6 separate regions of the Homo sapiens genome follow, and regions 2, 3, 4, 5 and 6 are each linked to region 1. The links are contacts of gene promoters, found by promoter capture Hi-C in blood cells and fetal thymus (Javierre and others, 2016). All regions are on one chromosome and are shown on one strand. Each heading gives the region's core, a stretch centred on a gene start or on the middle of the fragment in contact. The rest is flanking DNA. Distances are from core to core; before and after follow the strand shown.

Region 1 (3,079 bases), core at 238-2,737:
CTGGGCCTGGAAGGGCTAAACATGCTGAGTGACCCCTGTGCCCTGCTGCCTGATCCTGCTGTGGAGGAGTCATTCCGCAGTGACCGGCTCCAATGAGGGCACCTCATCACCATCCCTCTTCTTGGCCCCATCCCCCACCACCATTCCTTTCCTCCCTTCCCCCTGGCAGGTAGAGACTCTACTCTCTGTCCCCAGATCCTCTTTCTAGCATGAATGAAGGATGCCAAGAATGAGAAAAAGCAAGGGGTTTGTCCAGGTGGCCCCTGAATTCTGCGCAAGGGATGGGCCTGGGGGAACTCAAGGGAGGGCCTAAAGCACTTGTAACTTTGAACCGTCTGTCTGGAGGTCAGAGCCTGTTGGAAAGCAGGGGTAGAGGGGAGCCCTGGAAGCAGGGCTTTTCCGGATGCCTAGGGGTGGGCAGTGCCAGCCCCTCCTCACCACTCTTCCCCTTGCAGTGGAGGAGAGAGCCAGAGTGGATACTATTTTTTATTAAATATATTATTATATGTTAATAAAAAAATCATATCAAACCCTTGGTGTGGTTAGTTATTTGGGGCATGGCTGGGGATCTAGGGAGTTATAGGGCCATGGGTCTTTTTATCTATTAGGCTTTTTGCATCTTCTTAGCACCACTGTGCTTTGTGGAAGGGCCCCACAGCCTCGGAATTTGTACCCAGCTGGATGTAGGCTTCCACGGCAGCAGGAAATCACTTCATGTGCCCTCCTGTCTGTCCAGGGCCCTGCTGCAGCATCAGATGGGGGCTTTGACTGATCAGACAAGTTATTCCTCTTCCTCAACCCTAGGTCTGGCAGTGAGTCGGGTAAGGAGGTGATTGCTGGCTGAGCCCACAGGTCTGAAGTGCTCCTAGGTCTCAGGGAAGCAAGCCTTCATCCTCACTCCCTCACTATGCATGCATTCACTTCACCCTCTCCACTCTTCACCACTCATTCATTTTAGTTTTAATTAAACAGATCCTTCAGTGCCATGCATGTTCTGAAGGTTTTCTCTTTCTGGATTGGGTTGCCAGCCCTTGGACCAGCCGTGTGGGCCTCTGCACCCCTCACTCCCCCAACCCGCATAGTGAGAAAAGTAGAGCCCCGCAGTTACCTTACCCCCACCTCCACTGCTCTATTCCACACCCTGCAGTCCTGGCCTCTCTTCCTCTTTCCAAAGCTCTTGTCATTTTCAAAAAAGAGAACTGAGAGCTTCTGGTTCTGGTCCAAAGGGAATGCCCTGTGCCCTAAACCTGGAAGTAGGGGGAGCCACCTGGGTCCCCGTAGACTAGACCTTCGGGACTTCACCTGCGCCCACATCATGCTTGCCACATCTGACTGCAGGACCCAGGCGGGAAGGGAGCGCGCCGCGGCCCTCTGGGTCGCCTGGGGTCAGTGTCCTGAGGCACGGGCTGGATGGTGGGAAGCTACCTGGGTGCAGGGGGCCCTCCCAGCCGCCAGGGGTCGGGCTGCAGGCGGCTGGGCTTTGGGCAGACGCTTGCCAGGGTCACGGCCGCCGGCCGAGGAGGAGGGGTGGGGGTAGCGGCGGCGCCCGCGGCCCGGAGCGGGGGTTGGGGGAGTAGAGAAAGCGGGGCGCGCGGAGGAACGCTGGGTCCCCGGCGCCGCGGGAGCTGGGAGGACCGAGCCGGCCGAGCGAGCAGCGCGGCAGCACAGTCCCCGCGTGGCGCAGCGCGGCGGGGACGCGGGGACCGCCCGGATCTCCTTCCACTGCGCCCCGCGCTCTGCGGTCCTCGGCCGCCTCTTCTTCCTTCACTCACTGCCCGGGCGGGAGCGGCGCCCAAGTCGGGTGCGCCATGTCTGGGGCCGGGTAGCCCCGCCGCCCGCCGGCCCGCCAGCTCGCCCTCCGAGCCACCCGCCAGCGGGCCGGCCGGCCGGGAAGCGCGGGACAGGCAGGTAGGGGCTGGACCGGGCTGGGCGGCAGGCGGGGACGGGCAGGAGGGAGCGCGGGCGGCAGGCGGGGTGGGGGATGGCCCCCAGCTGCTGTCCCTCACTGCACATCTGGTTCCGGTTCCTCTCTCCTGGGGAAGTGAAAGTGGAGGGGAGGGCACCTCCCGCAATTAGCTCGCCGTGCCCGGCCTCCTGCACCCCCTTCTGCTCCCGTGGGTGCCGGAGTCGGAGCCGCCCTCCCTCCCGCTTGGGTCACGCGGCGGCCGGCGCTGCTGCCGTCACGTCCTCGGCCGCCGGCGCGCCTGCTTCTCTGCCCTCCTGCTCCTTCCTCAGCCTCCTCCCCCTCGGCGCGCCCTCTGCCCCAACCCGAACTTCCCGTCACCCGGCACGCGGGCGTGGGGACCCGGAGTGGGCCCTGTGCCCGTTGTCTTCCCTAGGGAGAAAGGGCTGCTTTCTGCAGGACTCTTCCCTGGCTTGGTGAGGGGAGGCCCCGGTGCGCAGGTCCTGCGGATGGGTGCCACCCACTTGCCCCTCAGAAGGTCCCACCTAATGGCCTCTGCCTGCTGCCTTGGGCATAGGGCTCCCATTCGCCCTCAGTGGATGAGGGACAGGTCTGTGCCCCAGAATTAAATCAAGAGGCTGACGCTGACTCCTGGCTTTACCTCCCAGAAGTGGAGTCTAAATTTAGCTGGGGTTGGTGTGTGTACGTGTGTGCGTGTGTGTGTGCGTGTGTGTGTGTGTGTGTGTGTCCAGAGGCCAGGTGATGAAGAAAGCCAGCCTGGCTCTATGAGATTCCTTATTCCCTGTTCTCTGGGGGAACAGCAGGAGGTTAGCAGGACTGCACATCCTGGAACCATTCTGAGCCTCCTCTGCCTTGCTCAGGATCCTATAGTCTGAGATTCCAACTTGGCGTAATGCTGTGCTGGCACCTTCAATGGTAACCCCACCACCGCCACCGCCACCACACACACCCATAGGCTGACTTCCTCTGAGTTGCAGCTTCCCCTCCACTGTTTCAGGAAGTAACCTCCCTTCCCCTCTGAAGCACCCCCCACGCTTCTGGGCCCCTGCTGCGAGCTACCCACCAGGCTTTTTCCCAGCTTCTGCACCCTGGGGCGCCTCAGGACCCTTGGGGCTCCTACTCCCCGGGGTTGGGCCATGGAGGCAGGTGAGAACT
Region 2 (3,079 bases), core at 405-2,904, 390 kb before region 1:
CTCTCCTCTTCACACCCTGGAAAAGCCTAAACTATATTCTCTCAGCACAGAAATGCTGTATCTTCTATTTATTATCACCAGCAGTAAGATTGGGGGCTGGGAGAGAGTTGAGGGCTATTTGGGGAATCTGTATGAACAAAAGATGGGAGACAGGACAAGTTTTCAGCACCTCCATAAAACATTTCCTTAAAAATGTCACAGGTTCCCTTATCTCAAGTGCAAGGCACTAAGCAAGAAAGTTCCTTTCCCCTGGCCATTCCTCCTGCCTCGTCTTCCTCCGATCCTCCCCTTCATTCTCACTGGCCTGTCCCTGCTAACATTCTCTTTACCTCAAACATCCTACATGTTGCCTTGATCCTATTCATGCTGTACACTACTGCCAGTCAATACTTCCTAAAGCATTCTTTAGTTTTTTTTTAGAATGCATTTTTTTCTTTTTGTGGGGGAGGGGTTCCAGTGAAAACTGGAAAACCTGCTAGACAAATTCTAAAAGAGCTGTAACACTTAGAATGCATTTTTAGAATACAGAATACATTCTTTTGACTTTCTTCAAAAACTTTTTTGTTTGTTTGTTTGTTTCGTTGTTTTTTGAGACACAGTTTCGCTCGTTGCCCAGGCTAGAGTGCAGTGGCGTGATCTTGGCTCACTGCTACCTCCACCTTCCGGTTTCAAGCGATTCTCCTACCTTAGCCTCCCAAGTAGCTGGGATTACAGGCAACCACCACCACACCTGGCTAATTTTTGTATTTTTAGTAGAGACGGGGTTTCAACATGTTGGCCAGGCTGGTCTCGAATTCCTGACCTCGTTATCCGCCCACCTTGGCTTCCCAAAGTGCTGGGATTACAGGTGTGAGCCACCGTGCCCAGTCTTTTCAATAACTTTTAATGGTTAGTAAATACAAAGTCCACAGGCAAATATTCAAAAGCCTCCACAATCAGGAGCAAGCTATGTTTCCAGCTCTTGCTCTTGGCCCAAGACCCTGGCCAACTATTTCCATAGGCCATTCCCAGGCTCCCATCTCCACACCTTTGCTTCCAGCCCTCTCAGCCTCCTCTCCATTGTGGCTCCACCTTCATCCAGCCCAGTCACCACTCAAAGCCCAGAGCAAATGCCATCTCTCCCTCTCTGCCTACCTGCTTAGGGAGCGACACTCTCCCAGTCCCCGGGCACCCTGTGCCTCCCACATGGTATCTCAGTCTGACACTGTCCAGATCTCCCCTCCTCGACCTATCCATCTGCTGCTGCTAAAGGCAGAGGCCACCTTATACATCTCTGTATCCCCAAGCTTCACATAGAAGACTCTAGGTCGAATTCTACAGCACTGGTTCCTATTTTGTTTTATAATGTGTTTAGATTTTCCTTCCTTTACTAGACGTAAGCTCCTAGAAGGAAGGAGATCCATTCCTAATTCATCTTTTATTTGTGATGGCACCTAGCACACTTCTTTGTACACAGTAGGCATGTAATAAATAGGTGCTGAATAAATCAATATTTTTTTTTCTCTAATACAGTCCCAAGTACCAGGAAACTGTGGTAAAAAGTTTGCTCTGCCCACAAAGATAAACAGATAACATCAAATGTTTACAGTACAGGAAGAAGAGGACTTCTCGTTACTTCTCAAGGACTTCATCTTCATAGAAAAGAAAAGTTCTATGGGACCGCCTGACTCCCTGGAGAGACCCCAGGTCAGAGAAGGCACATACCTGACATAGAGTGAAATGGGCACAACGGTGTTGAGGATGATGATGTAGGACCAGAAGGAGAGGAAGCCAGAGAAGAAGGCACTGTCCACTGCCTCATCCCACGGCAGGTAGACCTGGAAACGCATCCCCACCTCGTGCTCCCAGATGGCATTGCCAATGGCCAGGATCACCCCCATGCAAACCAGGAATCCAAAAATCTGGGGAGGAATGAGAAGCACAGGCGAGGCTGACATGTAGGAAGCCCTCAAAACCAAGTGCATCTGTGATGTATTCATCCCTTGAGCCCTCAAAAGCTCAGATGCTCTAGTGCAAGCTTGTCCAACCCATGGTCTCTGGGCCACATGTGGCCCAACACAGATTCATAAACTTTCTTAAAACACTATGAGATTTTGGTAACAGCTGAATGTTAAATGAAAAATAATTATAAAAAAAAAAAAAACTATTATGGGCTGGGCGCAGTGGCTCAAGCCTGTAATCCCAGCATTTTGGGAGGTTGAGGCGGATGGATCACCTGAGGTCAGGAGTTTGAGACCAGCCTGGCCAACACGGTGAAACCCCGTCTCTACTAAAAACATTAAAAAAATTAGCCAGTCCTGGTGGCACTTGCCTGTAGTCTCAGCTACTCAGGAGTCCAAGGCATGAGAATTGCTTGAACCCGGGAGGCAGACATTGCAGTGAGCCAAGATCATGCCACTGCATCCCAGCCTGGGCAACAGAGCAAGAACCTGTCTCAAAAAAAAAAAAAAAAAAGGCCAGGTGCAGTGACTCACACCTATAATCCCAGCACTTTGGGAGGCCAAGGCGGGCAGATCATGAGGTCAGGAGTTCGAGACCAGTCTGGCCAACATGGTGAAACCCCATCTCTCATCTCTACTAAAAATACAAAAAAATTAGCCGGGTGTGGTGGCGGGCACCTGTAATCCCAGCTACTAGGGAGGCTGAGGCAGGAGAATCACGTGAACCCGAGAGGCAGAGGTTGCAGTGAGCCGAGATAATGCCATTGCACTACACTCCAGCCTAGTGACAGAGTGAGACTCCGTCTCAAAAAAAAAAAAAAAAAATTTATGAGATTTTTTTTTGCAATTTTTTTTTTCTAAGCTTATCAGCTATTGTTAATGTTAGTGTATTTTATGTGTGGCCCAAGACAATTCTTCTTCCAATGTGGCCCAGGGATGCCAAAATATTGGACACCACTGCTCTAGTGGAAAAAGCTCAGAACTGGTGACAGGTTCTAGTCTGTCACCAATTATCATGTGGCCTTCTGTCTGACCATTATTTCATCTATATGATGAAGAAACTGAAATAGTTGATTAGCTCTCAATCTGGCACCTTGAAACCTTCCAGAGTCCTCAAAGTTGGTAAGAGTGGGGATGAG
Region 3 (3,079 bases), core at 457-2,956, 390 kb after region 1:
AGATATGAATTAGTCTAATCGACCCCGCAAAGCTTTATTTAAAAGATTCCTTGTTAGACCGAGCACGGTGGCTCACACCTGTAATTCCAGCACGTTGGGAGGCCAAGGCAGGCAGATCCCTTGAGGCCAGGAGTTCGAGACCAGCCTGGTCAACATGGTGAAACCCCGTCTCTACCAAAAAATACAAAAAATTTAGCTGGGTGTGGTGGTACATGCCTGTATTCCCAGCTACTCGGGAGGCTGACGCTGGAGAATTGCTTGAACCTGGGAGATGGAGGTTATAGTGAGCTGAGATTGGGCCACTGGACTCCAGCCTGGGCAACAGAGCAAGACTGTGTCTCAAAAAAAAAAAAAAAAAAAAAAAAAAAAGAATACAGGCCATAGGCAGTGCTGTGGTTTGAATGTGTTCCCCAAAGTTCATGTGTTGGAAACTTTATCTCCAAAGCAATAGTAATTAACAGGTGATTAGGCCATGAGGGCTCTGCTGTAATGAATGGATTCGTGCTGTTATCACAGGAGCGGGTTCCTTATAGAAGGATGAATTTGTCCCCCCACCTTTTATTTCTCTCCCTCTCTTTGCTCTTCCACCAGGAGATGATGCAGCAAGAAGGCCTTCTCCAGGTGTTACCCCCTCCAGCTTAGACTTCCTGGCCTCCAGAATGGTGAGCCAATAAATATCTGTTTTGTTTTGAATACCAGTCTGTGGTATTCTGTTGTAGCAATACAAAATGGACCAAGACAGGCAGTACACCTGTTTTCAGAAAACAAGTGTATTGTATTCTATACAACACATTCTATATTATATTGTACATTCTTTTTTTTTTGAGACAGGGTCTCGCTCTGTTGCCCAGGCTGGAGTGAAGTGGCATCATAATCTCTGCTCACTGCAACTTCCGCCTCCCGGGTTCAAGTGATTCTCCTATCTCAGCCTCCTGAGTAGCTGGGATTACAGGCATGTGCCACTACGCCCAGCTAATTTTGTATTTTTAGTAGAGACGGGTTTCTCCATGCTGGTCAGGCTGGTCTTGAACTCCTAACCTCAGGTGATCTGCCCGCCTCGGGTTCTAAAGTGCTGGGATTACAGATGTGAGCCATCATGCCCGGCCGAGAGCAAAAATTTATTATCTCTTATGGTTCTGCAGGTAGACTGGGTTTAGTTGATGGTTCTCACGTGGGGTCTTCCATGTAGGTGGAAATCGGAGCTAGAGTAATCTGAATGTTTGAACAAACTCAACTTCTACGGTAGCTTGCTTAACATGCGTGGCAACTGATATCGAATGTGAGCTGGGACCTCAGCTAGAACTGCCAGCCGGAGTGCTTACCATGGCCTCTCGATGTGGCTTGAGCTTCTTAGAGCATGGCAGTAGGGTCCTGAGAGGACAAATCCCAAAGTGAGCATTGCATGAGGCCTACGTGGAAGCTGGTAGGCTTAAGATTTATTAATTTTAATTTTAATTAAATTAATTAATTTATTTTTGAGACAGGGTTTCATTCTGTCACCCAGGCCCGGGTGCAGTGGTGCAATAATGGCTCACTGCAGCCTCCACCTCCCAGGGTCAAGCAATTCTCCTGCCTCAGCCTCCCAAGTGGCTGGGACTACAGGTACACGCCACCATACCTGGTTAATTTTTGCATTTTTTGTAGAGACAGTGTTTCACCATGTTGCCCAGGCTGGTCTCAAATTCCTGGACTCAAGGGTCCCACCTGCCTTGGTCTCCCAAAGTGCTGGGAATACAGATATGAGACACTGTGCCTGGTATTTCTTAAGATTTATTTCAGAAATCCCAGGACATCATTTCTGCTATATTCTAATGATAAAAAAAAATCATTAAGTCTGGCTCAGATTAAGGGGAGGAGGAGAATTAGACATCTCTCTCTTTTTTTTTTTTTGAGATGGAGTCTTGCTCTGTCGCCCAGGCTGGAGTGCAGAGGTGTGATCTTGGCTTACTGCAACCTCCACTTCCTGGGTTCAAGTGATTCTCTTGCCTGAGTAGCTGGGATTACAGGCATGCGCCACCACGCCCGGGTAATTTTTGTATTTTCAATAGAGACAGGGTTTCACCATGTTGGTCAGGCTGGTCTTCAACCCCTGACCTCGTGATCTGCCTGCCTCGGCCTCCCAAAGTGCTGGGATGACAGGCGTGAGCCACCGCGCCTGGCTAGACATCTTTTAATGTAAAGAGCAGCGTGCATAAAATTGACAGTGACCATCTTTGGAGACTAAATACCATAGTCTGTCTTCTAGCAACCGCAATTCACATCCCTCCCATATGCAAAATACATTAATCTCCTTCCCAAGACCCACAAAGTCTCATCTCTTTAAGGCATCAATTTGATGTCTCTGATCTTATTATCTGAGACAGGCCCAGAGATATGAACAAGGCTTCTCATGTGCAGTTCCTCCAGGACGGCTCCTCAAAAGTGGTTCCTCTTGACCTGAAGTCCTGTGAAGAACATAGTCGATGTTCACAGGTGAGATAAAGATACATAACTGCCATCCAGGCTTGTTGGCTCACGCCTGTAATCTCAGCACTTTGGGAGGCTGAGGTGGGTAGATCACTTGAGCTCAGGAATTTGAGACCAGCCTGGCCAAAGTGGCAAAACCCCGTCTCTGCTAAAAATACAAAGATTAGCCTGGTATGGTGGCATGCGCCTGTAATCCCAGCTACTCGGGAGGCTGAGGCAGGAACATCGCTTGAACCTGGGAGGTGGAGATTGCACTGAGCTGAGATCATACCACTGCACTCCAGCCTGGGTGACAGAGTAAGACTCTGTTTTTTTTTTTTTTCTTTTTTTTTTTAAAAAGATAACTGCCACAAACACGCCTATTCTTAAGGGTGTGGTGGTGTACTGGAGGCACAAATTGGTGCATTGGTCCATAGCAATTCCGAAATTGAGTCAGACATATGTCACCAGATTCTTGACTAGGGCCCAGTTCTGCTCTCTATAAGTGGTTCTTCTTGGCTCTTGGCCTCTAGGTTCTTGACTCCATTTTCTGAGTTAACTCTCTATTTTCCAAAAGAAGTAACTGTGTTGATAGCTAAGTAGCTTTCTCAGCCTAGTTCTTGCCCATTTGAAG
Region 4 (3,079 bases), core at 426-2,925, 360 kb after region 1:
CTTGGCCTCCCAAAGTGTTGGATTACAGGGATTACAGGCATGAGCCACCGCGCCTGGCCTGTTTTTTATTTTCTAGAGATGGAGTCTCATTATATTCCCCAGGCTGGTCTCAAACTGCTGGCCTCAAGCAATCCTCCTGCCTCAGTTTCTTAAAGTGCTGGGATTACAGGCGTGAGCCACCATGCCCAGCCTTAGGATGCTTTTTGGAGTCCCTCAGCTGAGATGCAAGTGGGGCACATGTAACTGAGACTCCATCTGCCCTGGGCAGCTTTTCTTTTTTCTTTTTTTCCTCTTTTTCTAATCCAGTATGACTGGTAGTTCCTGGGCAGCTTTTCTGAGCCTTGGGGTACCAGCCTGCCATGAATCTGAGGCTTCTGTTGTCCCCTGCTTTCAATCTGTAAGTAATAAACCTGCTTCATGTAACTTGAGTGTGTCTGTGTGTGTCTGTTTAACTTGACTCAGACAGGTTGAAACCAGTGCACAACGGACCTACTTCTCAATTCCTTTGTAGGCAATCTATTGCTTTTGGAAATGTTCAGAGTTTTAATTGAATTTGATCTTCTTCCACTTCAATATGAGTCTAAATGTGTTTTTTTCCTCAGTTACCCTATTTAGCATTCTATGAGCCCTTTCTATCTGAGATCTTTTTCTCTAATTCTCAGAAGTGTTTCAATGTTATTACTTCATTATTTCCTCCTCTCTGTTTTTTTTTTTTTTAATTCCCTGTCTGGGGAATCCTGTTATCCTGATATGAGCACTCTACTTCTATTCTCCATAGCACTTAGCTCCTTTAAAAATATTCTCTTTGTTCTCTACTTCTGCCTTCTGGGAGAGTTTCTCAGTCTGATCATTTAGCTCATCCATTTATTCTCCAGTTGTAGCCATCTTTTATTTTTCCCAATGATTATGCTCTTTATTTTATTTTATTATTATTTTATTGACACTCTGTCACCCAGGCTGGAGTGCAGTGGCACGATCTTGGTGCATTGCAACCTCTGCCTCCTGGGTTCAAGCAATTCTCCTGCCTCAGCCTCCTGAGTAGCTGGGATTACAGGCTCACACCACCACACCCGGCTAATTTTTGCATTTTTAGTAGAGACGGGGTTTCACCATGTTGGCTAGAATGGTCTTGATCTCTTGACCTTGTGATCTGCCCGCCTCTGCCTCCCAAAGTGCGGGGATTACAGGCGTGAGCCACTGCGCCTGGACAGTTATTTTTTTATGACTTCTTGTTTTTATTTCTATCACTAATCTCTCCTTTATCTTTTTGAGGATTTTATTACCTTAATTTAACTTTTTGGTCTACCAGTTTCAATAACTATGCTTCAAATGGTTCATGTTGGTCTTTTTGGGGGGTATTTTGTTACAATTTCTGTACATCTCAGGTTCTGGTGATTTTGGCTTGTGAGCCTGTGTTTCCTGGGCTGGAGTGGGGGTTGTTCTCAGCTACTGCATCTGGAGGTATTGGGGGAAATCCTCAGTGTGGACAGCCAAAGGCACTGCAGAACTAGTGTCACCATTTTGTTTGCGGTCATTCCGCTGGGCAACATCCTGGATGGGAATTTGCCTTTAAGCTTTATGTTGTGCACATGTACCCTGGAACTTAAAGTATAATAAAAATCTATCTATATATATACAAAATAAAAAAATAAAATATTCACTCATACATGTGGAAAAAAAATAAAAAAATAAAAAAATAAAAAGCAGCTCTGGGAAAAGGCAGTCTCCCTGGATTTAAACCTCCAGCTCTGTGGATTTGCAGTGGGAGGAAGCTTGTTGCCTCAGATCAGCCCCCGACTTACTTGCATCAGCTTTTTATCCTGATAGGCCTTGTGTTTTGCCCTGCTTGTTTCTTCTCTGGAGGCAATTGTATCATATCCTTGTTTTTTTCCAATCCTTAGACCTTGAAAAAATGTTTTCCTTAGTGTAATGGTCAGAACCTTCAAATTAATGTTGAATAAAGTGATAATAGCAAGAATCCTTTCCTTGTGTTTGACTTTAACAGGAACAATTTTAAAGCATTTACTGTTCATTCATTTACTGTTAAGAATAATTTAATGTTAAGAATAAGATTGCAGGCTGGGTGTGGTGGCTCATGCCTGTAATTCCAGCACTTTGGGAGGCCGAGGTAGGTGGATCCTTTGAGCTCAGGAGTTTGAGACCAGTGAGGGCAACGTGGTGAAACCCCACTAAAAAAAAAAAAATAAGATTGCAGTAGGTTTTTGCTTGTTGGTCAAGATGTTCCTTTCTATTCCTAGATTATTAAGCGTTATTATTATAAATGGGTATTGAATTTATTCTGGCATCATCATATGGTTTTAATTTTTAATCTCTTAATGTGGAGACTTACATTAATGTATTTTCTAATGTTAAAGTCATCCCTGCAATCATGACATAAACCCAACTTAGTCATAATTTTTCTTAAGTATAATACTTGATTCCATTTGCTAACAGTTTATTTAGGATTTTGCATCTATAATCATAAGTGAGATTGGGTCTCAATTTTCCTTTCTCATACGATACATTTCTGGTGTTGGTATGTAGGATGATCTGCTTGGTACATGGGTTTGGCTGTATGTAACGGATACCAAAAATAGTGGTGACGTGAATGAGAGGGAAGTTTTTTTTTTCTGTCCTGTATTATCTGGAGGTTGGTGGTCCAGGGCTGGTTTGGTGGTTCTGCTTAACCACCCCTAGTTCGTATGGTCCAAATAGCTCATGTACTTTCTAAGTGGCAGGGTGAAGAAACGGCATGTCTCTGACTTTTGAGCATGAATCAAAACTTGCATACCCCATTTCTACTTCTCTTGGCCAGAACTTAGTCATATGGCTACACTCAGCTGCAAGGAAGGCTGGGAAGTGTGGCCTTTATTTGAACTTAAAAGCAAAGATTCTTTTGCTGTGAAAGACAAGGGGAGAATAGGTAATAGGACAATTAGCAGTCTCTACCATAAAGGTTATTTTATATATGCCACATATGGGCAGTATTTCCTTTTTCTATTTTCTGGAAATTTAAGTTTGTATGATTTTTTTTTCTTTTTTTTTTTGGCTGACTTTTGTTTTTTTTTTTTTTAAATTT
Region 5 (3,079 bases), core at 390-2,889, 310 kb before region 1:
AATACCAATACAGAATTACCTCTTCTGATTTCACATGATTCCAGGAGATCCTGTTCAAAGACTATTAAAGTTCAATTCCTTGAATTACATTTCTTAGTGGCTCCAATTATTGTTGCTCAGCATACACTTAGCACAGTTGCTGCAAGTCAAGGACTAATGTTGAATAACTGTGCAATGCTATGGCAGGAGGCTCTTGGAATAAGGCACCTGCACAATTTCTCTGCCCACTTGTGTTCTCTTTCATCTTCCCTCTTCTTCCCTCCCCTCTTCTCCTCCATGGGGAATACCCCATGCTGGACTTGAAGGACAACGATGGATCAGGGAAAACGGTAAGTCAATGAGGACAATGATAGGTCAGGTAAAAGAAGGAGTGGCAAGGCAGTGAGATTGCCACTGTGAGTAGTAGCATAAAGGGGCAGAGATGAGCAGAGAAGACCACCTCAACCACTGTATTTCCTGGAAAAAGCTAGCAAATGGCTTGAAACTAAGTCAAGATATCACTTTTTTTGGAGATGGGGTCTTGCTATGTTGCCCAGGCTGGTCTTGAACTCCTGGGCTCAAGCAATTCTCCCACCTTGGCCTCCCAAGTAGCTGAGACTACAAGTGTGTGCTACCATGCCTGGCTAAGATATCATCTAGAAATCACAGGGAGACAACACAAAGTGGGATGAATAGGAAAAGCCATGACATGCCCAACTTTAGCAGGATTTTGAATCTACCAATCCTGATTTATCACATCCCTTCTTGCTACCAATCAGGTGTCTGCCATCAATCCCAACACTATCTCCCTTTTTATTTATTTAGTCCCATCCCAATCCTACCAGAATAAGGGTTGCTGGCCAGGCTACCATCCCTCCCAGTCAGCGGAGTAGTGGGTGTGGGAAATGGGATGCTGTAGTAATCCTAGAAAAGAGGGGAAAAAAGAGCAGAGATTCAATGTCACTCATTCCCCAGCATGAGTACTATTTCCACGGAGGAAAAAACAGAAGAATGTGAGAGTTGTGCAATTTATCCAGTCACTAATTAAGCTGGCTAGAGTTAGCACAAACTCCACATTACTCTTGCATACACTGTCCCCCCTGCCTGGCCATGAGCACAGTCAGACAAGGTCTACGGGTATGCCCACTTGAGAATACATCAAAGTCCACGAGGACCAATATTTTCAACCCTCTAGGTGTCATCCCTATCAGTTTATACCAAGCTTATTCTACTGAGAAAACAGATCATTCGATAATTTAAAGTGTCTGGGACAAACAGAAAGCACCCTGAGTGCTCCAGAGTACTTTACTGGGCTATAGAATAGGTTAAAATGTATTTACTAAGATGCCACAACTCTGATTTAAAAAAAGAAAAAAAAAAGGCTGGGTGCGGCGGCTCATGCCTATAAGCTCAGCACTTAGGGAGGCAGAGGCGGGTGGATCATAAGGTCAGGAGTTCAAGACCAGCTTGGCCAAGATGGTGAAACCCCGCCTCTACTAAAAATACAAAAAAAATTAGCTGGGGGTGGTGGTGGGCACCTTTAATCCCAGCTACTCGGAAGGCTGAGGCAGACAATTGCTTTAACCCAGGCGGCGGAGGTTGCAATGAGCCAAGATCACACCACTGCACTCCAGCTTGAGCGACAGAGAAAGACTCTGTCTCAAAAAAAAAAGTTATCTTCTGTTGGAAACCCTCCCCCAAATCCCTATATTCTAATATGCCTTAAATCAGAGTGTATGGAGGGCTGGGATGGGAAAGAGCTATGTCTGTGACGGAGATAATTCTCCCAACACTAATTTTAAGACTACTTTCTTTTCCAAAGCTCTATCCCACATACTCACCAATGGAAATCTTGTCTGAAGCATCTGCAAGTCATCATAACCATATACTTGTGGCTGAAAGATACAGACATATAGCAATAACAGGAACTGGTCATGATGTTAGCAAAACAAGGAGCCAAGAGACAAGCTAATTCAACAGAACATTCATCCTCATTCTGGGTTAGAACAGGACACGGATTATTTCCTTCAATTTTATTTAAGGAAAAAGCAGTAAAGTACACAGAGATTAAATGATTCATGAAAGGTCTTGAAGCTTTCCTTGAGCTAAATACTACTGATTCTAGTAGGCTGGCTTCTTGATACCAATAGAGTAGACACAAAACATACACGAACAACCAGTTTTACTCTCTATTCTACAAGTCTCTGTCTCTTATACTCTTCAAAATCTGGCTTAAAAATAATCTCCTCTGGAAAGAATACTTCACTTTTCTCCAATGTCAGGGTTTTAAGGTAGTGACCACAAATTAAAAATGTGTAACTGTGTTATTTGGATGTGTCATCGGTATGAAATTTATCTAGACTTTGTCTATGAGGGCAGGAACAGGTATCTTCTAAAACGTTTCCATATATCCTTCATCTTAATAGGTACCAAATACTTGAAGGTCACAGAAGATACACTAGGGCAAAAAGCTACTAATGTCAGCCACTTATTCTCAAAGTCCCAGATTGAGTCAGGAAACTTTCCTCTAACCAGGCCAGACCAGCAAACACACTCAGAGTTAGGGATTTAATCAAATCAGAGAAAATAATTCTTGGGGCCAGGAGTAGTGGCTCAGGCCTATATATAACCCCAGTTATTTGAGAGGCTGAGGCAGGAGGACTGTCTGAACCTGGGATTTTGAGACCAGCCTAGGCAACATAGGAAGACCCTGTCTCTAAAAAAATTTTTAAAACTTAGCCAGGCATGGGGATGCACACCTGTAGTCCTAGCTACTTGGGGAGTCTGAGGTGAGAGGATTGCTTGAGCCCAGGAGTTCAAGGCTGCAGTGAGCTAGCTATGATCGTTCCACTGTACTCCAACCTGGGTAAAAGAGCAAGATCTGCCTCAAAAAATAAAATAATAGTCATAATTATCTAAGAAACCAAAAAGGATTCCAGATGAACATTCTGGCCTTTGGCTTCTGAGGCCCAGAAGCTGTGTTTCAAACAGGGCAGATATTCTCATCACACATATACATACACATTGTACGCACACACACACATGCATACATGTGTGCACCATAAACCAAAGCAGATACACAATAGATGGGTTGGCCTCA
Region 6 (3,079 bases), core at 212-2,711, 290 kb before region 1:
AACCCTGAATACTCCATCACACCAAGAAGGCTGTTCAACAGGGCACCAGAAAGGCTAGAGAGATTTCGAAATCTTCTTGTTCAGATACTGACATGTCCCAAAAATAAAGGGAAAAAAAGGATATTCTTATCTCAGTAACAGAAAACAAATAAATGGATAGTGTGGACTTTGATTCTAGGCCTTGTTCATCTTTACAAGCAGTGGCTTGATTAATTCTGGCTATCTTTTCAAAAGGCAACACTACCCTAACATAAACACTAGAAAATACACTTGGACCTAATAGCAGTGACATAGCATAGTTGAAAGGGCATGGACTTTCAGGGTCAAACAATGCTGAGTTCAAATACTAGCAAATTTATAACCTCTCTTTCGGCCTTAGTTTTGTCATCTGGAAAGTGATGATAAATAATGATTATTTCATACAATATCAAGCAGCATTAAGCGAAATAACATGTGTAATGTGCCCATATGCACGTTACATAAACAGTACACACAGTAATACAACTGCCAGCCCTTTCTCACCCTATCTCCATAACCAAACACTATTCTTCCACGTTTTAATGTAAGTATAATCAGAAAAAACTATTTCCTTAGATTCCCAGAGACAAGAAATGAATGATAAATGGTCACTCACTCGTCCCATCATCTGGTTCAAAGTGGCCAGTGTTGTTCCACGTATTGCCGCTGCTATTGCCATAGTTATCATCAGTATTGGCTGGCTCTGCATAATCAGCTGGGTTAAAGGTTCTGGAAAAAATAAAACTTAAGAGTCTCTGACCTCTAAGCAGCTTTGGCAAATATTAACTCAAAGAATCAAAATCTTGACTGCATCCTTCCTAGTACAAATCTGTCATGGCCCCATTCTATAATCCTGTGTGTCATCTACTTTTTCTCACTTATCACTCTACCCAAAATTTCATGGTATAATCTCAACATATATCTAAGATATTCTGAGAAAAGAACAGGTATATTGATTCAAATAAAGATATATAAAATATAGGTAATGATCCAGGTGGTAAAGGTTTATCCCTAAGAAATGAGCCCTAAGTCCCCATATCTTTCTGACCAGTCTAGAAATCATTCTGATCATTTTGGTTAAGGCTGCCTACAGTAATTTTTAAGGGAAAAAAAATTAAGACACTAGATCAATGAAACTTACCCCATTCCTTGAGCAGAAAACCTTCCTCCTCGCCTACCAGAGCCACCTAAAGAAAGAATGAGAAAAAGAGAAGAGAGATGTATTTTAGAAGTTGATATAAAACTTCCTTGCCAGGCAGGCACAGTGGCTCCCGGTGGTAATCCCAGCACTTTGAAAGGCTGAGGGCGGGCGGATTGGTTGCATCCAGAAGTTCGAGACCAGCCTAGGCAATAGAGCAAAACCCTATCTCTATAAAAAGTACAAAAATTTGCTGAGTGTGGTGGCACACACCTATAGTCCCAGCTCCTTGAGGGGCTGAGGCAGGAGGATCACTTGAATCCAGGAGGCAGAGGCTACAGTGAGCTAAGACCGCACTACTGCACTCCAGCCTGGGTGACAGTGAAACCTTGCCTCAAAAATACAAAAAACTACCCTGCCAGCTGAGGCAGCTCTGGAATAAAAAGTGGTTGATACTATCAGATGTTCTTTCTCTCTGTCCCATGTTACACATCAGTAATAGAGTAGGACAATCATTACTGTTGAGAGATTTTTCTTTTGCTCTCAGACTACCATGTCCTCAAGCAAATACAATACTAGCAATAAAGACTAGAGGAAATGACATCTACCTTCTTTCTCACTCTCCCCTTCTGCAATCTCTAGTATATGCATGACACCTCAGGAATTAACTAACTAGACTTCATGTTAATTTGTTTTTAAACAAAGTAGACCCTGGAGCCAAGTGCTGTCTCTCACACCTATAACCTCAGCACTTGGAGAGGCCAAGCAGGAAGATCTCTTGAAGCCAGGAGTTTGAGACCACCCTGGGCAACATATTGAGACTCCATCTCTACAAAAGCATTTAAAAATTAGCGAGGCGGGCGCATCACTTTAGGTCAGGAGTTCGAGGCCAGCCTGGCCAATGTAGTGAAAGCCCATCTCTACTAAAAATACAAAAATTAGCTGGGCGTAGTGACGCACGCTTGTAATCCCAGCTACTTGGGAGACTGAGGCAGAAGAATCGCTTGAACCCGGGAGGCAGAGGTTGCAGTGAGCCAAGATCGCGCCACTGCACTCCAGCCTGGGTGACAGTGCGAGACTCCATCTCAAAAAAAATTAGCCAGGCATACTGGCGGCCACCTGTAGTCTTAGCTACTAGGGAGGCTGAGGCAGGAGGATCACTTGAGCCCAGGAGTCTGAGGCTGCAGTGAGCTATGACTGTGCCACTGCACTCCGGCCTGGGTGAGAGTGAGACTACCTCCAATAAAAAAAAAAAATAAAGCAGACCATTAATGAATAAAGAGTAACCTGCCCCCAATATCCATCCCCCAACAAACTGATCACCTCTGCCTCGGCCACGGCCCCTTCTGCCTCTTTCTGTTCCTCTTCCAGAAGGCCCTCCACTCTTGGTGCCATCCAATCCATTTTCCTGACCTCGAACTGAAATAAAAATAAAAATTAAAACAACAACAACAACAAAAAAACCAAACCACAGATGGCCAGAGCACAGTCAACAGGATATATACAAATATATAAATGGTATGTAATATGGTATTGGGAATTAAAAAAACAACGAAGAGAAAATGAGCTGGAAGGATGGGAACATGTTTCTCAGGGAATGGTAATGTGCCTTAATGGAGAGCTGCAAGTCAAATTTAACTTTATAAATGACTACAGGGTAATCTCATGCCAGACTGGTGGCAGTTGGTAGAAAAGGCCACATGCAAGAGATGTCAAGGTCTCAGAACAGACGACGGCAAGAAAAGCAAAAGGATAATATAATGGTTCCTAGGTCCTGACTAGCAGGGCCCTGGCACATCCCTAGAGTCTAGACATTACTGACCCACAGCTGGTTTTGATAAAGCCCCATGCATACACTCTCGTCCACGGCTGGCACCTCTCCCCCGTCTTGGTGGCCCACCACGTCGCCGACTATAGTCTCTG

Evidence for each region. The method cuts DNA at HindIII sites, captures the fragments that hold promoters and counts their contacts. A CHiCAGO score of 5 or more calls a contact.
Region 2: a contact is called between a fragment that was not itself captured here and the fragment with the promoter of DENND4B in region 1, in 1 of 17 cell types (total CD8 T cells). The highest score is 5.5, in total CD8 T cells.
Region 3: a fragment that was not itself captured here is called in contact with the fragment with the promoter of DENND4B in region 1 in 1 of 17 cell types (M2 macrophages); the score reaches 5.5 in M2 macrophages.
Region 4: a contact is called between a fragment that was not itself captured here and the fragment with the promoter of DENND4B in region 1, in 2 of 17 cell types (total B cells and M0 macrophages). The highest score is 5.7, in total B cells.
Region 5: a fragment that was not itself captured here is called in contact with the fragment with the promoter of DENND4B in region 1 in 6 of 17 cell types (naive CD8 T cells, naive CD4 T cells, naive B cells and 3 more); the score reaches 6.7 in naive CD8 T cells.
Region 6: a contact is called between a fragment that was not itself captured here and the fragment with the promoter of DENND4B in region 1, in 3 of 17 cell types (fetal thymus, naive CD4 T cells and naive CD8 T cells). The highest score is 5.4, in fetal thymus.

Annotation. Positions count from the first base shown.
Region 1 is chr1:153,945,126-153,948,204 of GRCh38, reverse strand. It overlaps DENND4B (DENN domain containing 4B), which reads left to right and starts at 1,487. Exons shown (of 28, transcript NM_014856.3): 1 at 1,487-1,904. CRTC2 (CREB regulated transcription coactivator 2) reads left to right here. Exons shown (of 14, transcript NM_181715.3): 14 at 1-530. The coding sequence ends at 96. RefSeq lists enhancers at 916-985, 1,797-2,297, 2,766-2,815 and a silencer at 1,376-2,275. The HindIII fragment of the contact is 4,483 bases long and covers 1-3,079 here.
Region 2 is chr1:154,336,170-154,339,248 of GRCh38, reverse strand. It overlaps ATP8B2 (ATPase phospholipid transporting 8B2), which reads right to left. Exons shown (of 28, transcript NM_001370597.1): 12 at 1,705-1,901. It also overlaps the pseudogene RNU7-57P. Among named protein-coding and RNA genes, the nearest start is that of ATP8B2, 12 kb to the right of the region's middle. The HindIII fragment of the contact is 731 bases long and covers 1,289-2,019 here.
Region 3 is chr1:153,557,890-153,560,968 of GRCh38, reverse strand. No RefSeq gene overlaps it. Among named protein-coding and RNA genes, the nearest start is that of S100A2, 6.4 kb to the left of the region's middle. The HindIII fragment of the contact is 3,344 bases long and covers 35-3,079 here.
Region 4 is chr1:153,583,911-153,586,989 of GRCh38, reverse strand. No RefSeq gene overlaps it. Among named protein-coding and RNA genes, the nearest start is that of S100A2, 20 kb to the right of the region's middle. RefSeq lists an enhancer at 2,983-3,079. The HindIII fragment of the contact is 198 bases long and covers 1,577-1,774 here.
Region 5 is chr1:154,257,772-154,260,850 of GRCh38, reverse strand. It overlaps UBAP2L (ubiquitin associated protein 2 like), which reads right to left. Exons shown (of 27, transcript NM_014847.4): 21 at 1,821-1,874; 22 at 822-903. SNORA58B (small nucleolar RNA, H/ACA box 58B) reads right to left here and starts at 1,124; the gene lies at 989-1,124. The HindIII fragment of the contact is 872 bases long and covers 1,204-2,075 here.
Region 6 is chr1:154,234,692-154,237,770 of GRCh38, reverse strand. It overlaps UBAP2L (ubiquitin associated protein 2 like), which reads right to left. Exons shown (of 27, transcript NM_014847.4): 5 at 3,012-3,079; 6 at 2,480-2,575; 7 at 1,160-1,205; 8 at 635-747. Among named protein-coding and RNA genes, the nearest start is that of UBAP2L, 15 kb to the right of the region's middle. The HindIII fragment of the contact is 7,636 bases long and covers 1-3,079 here.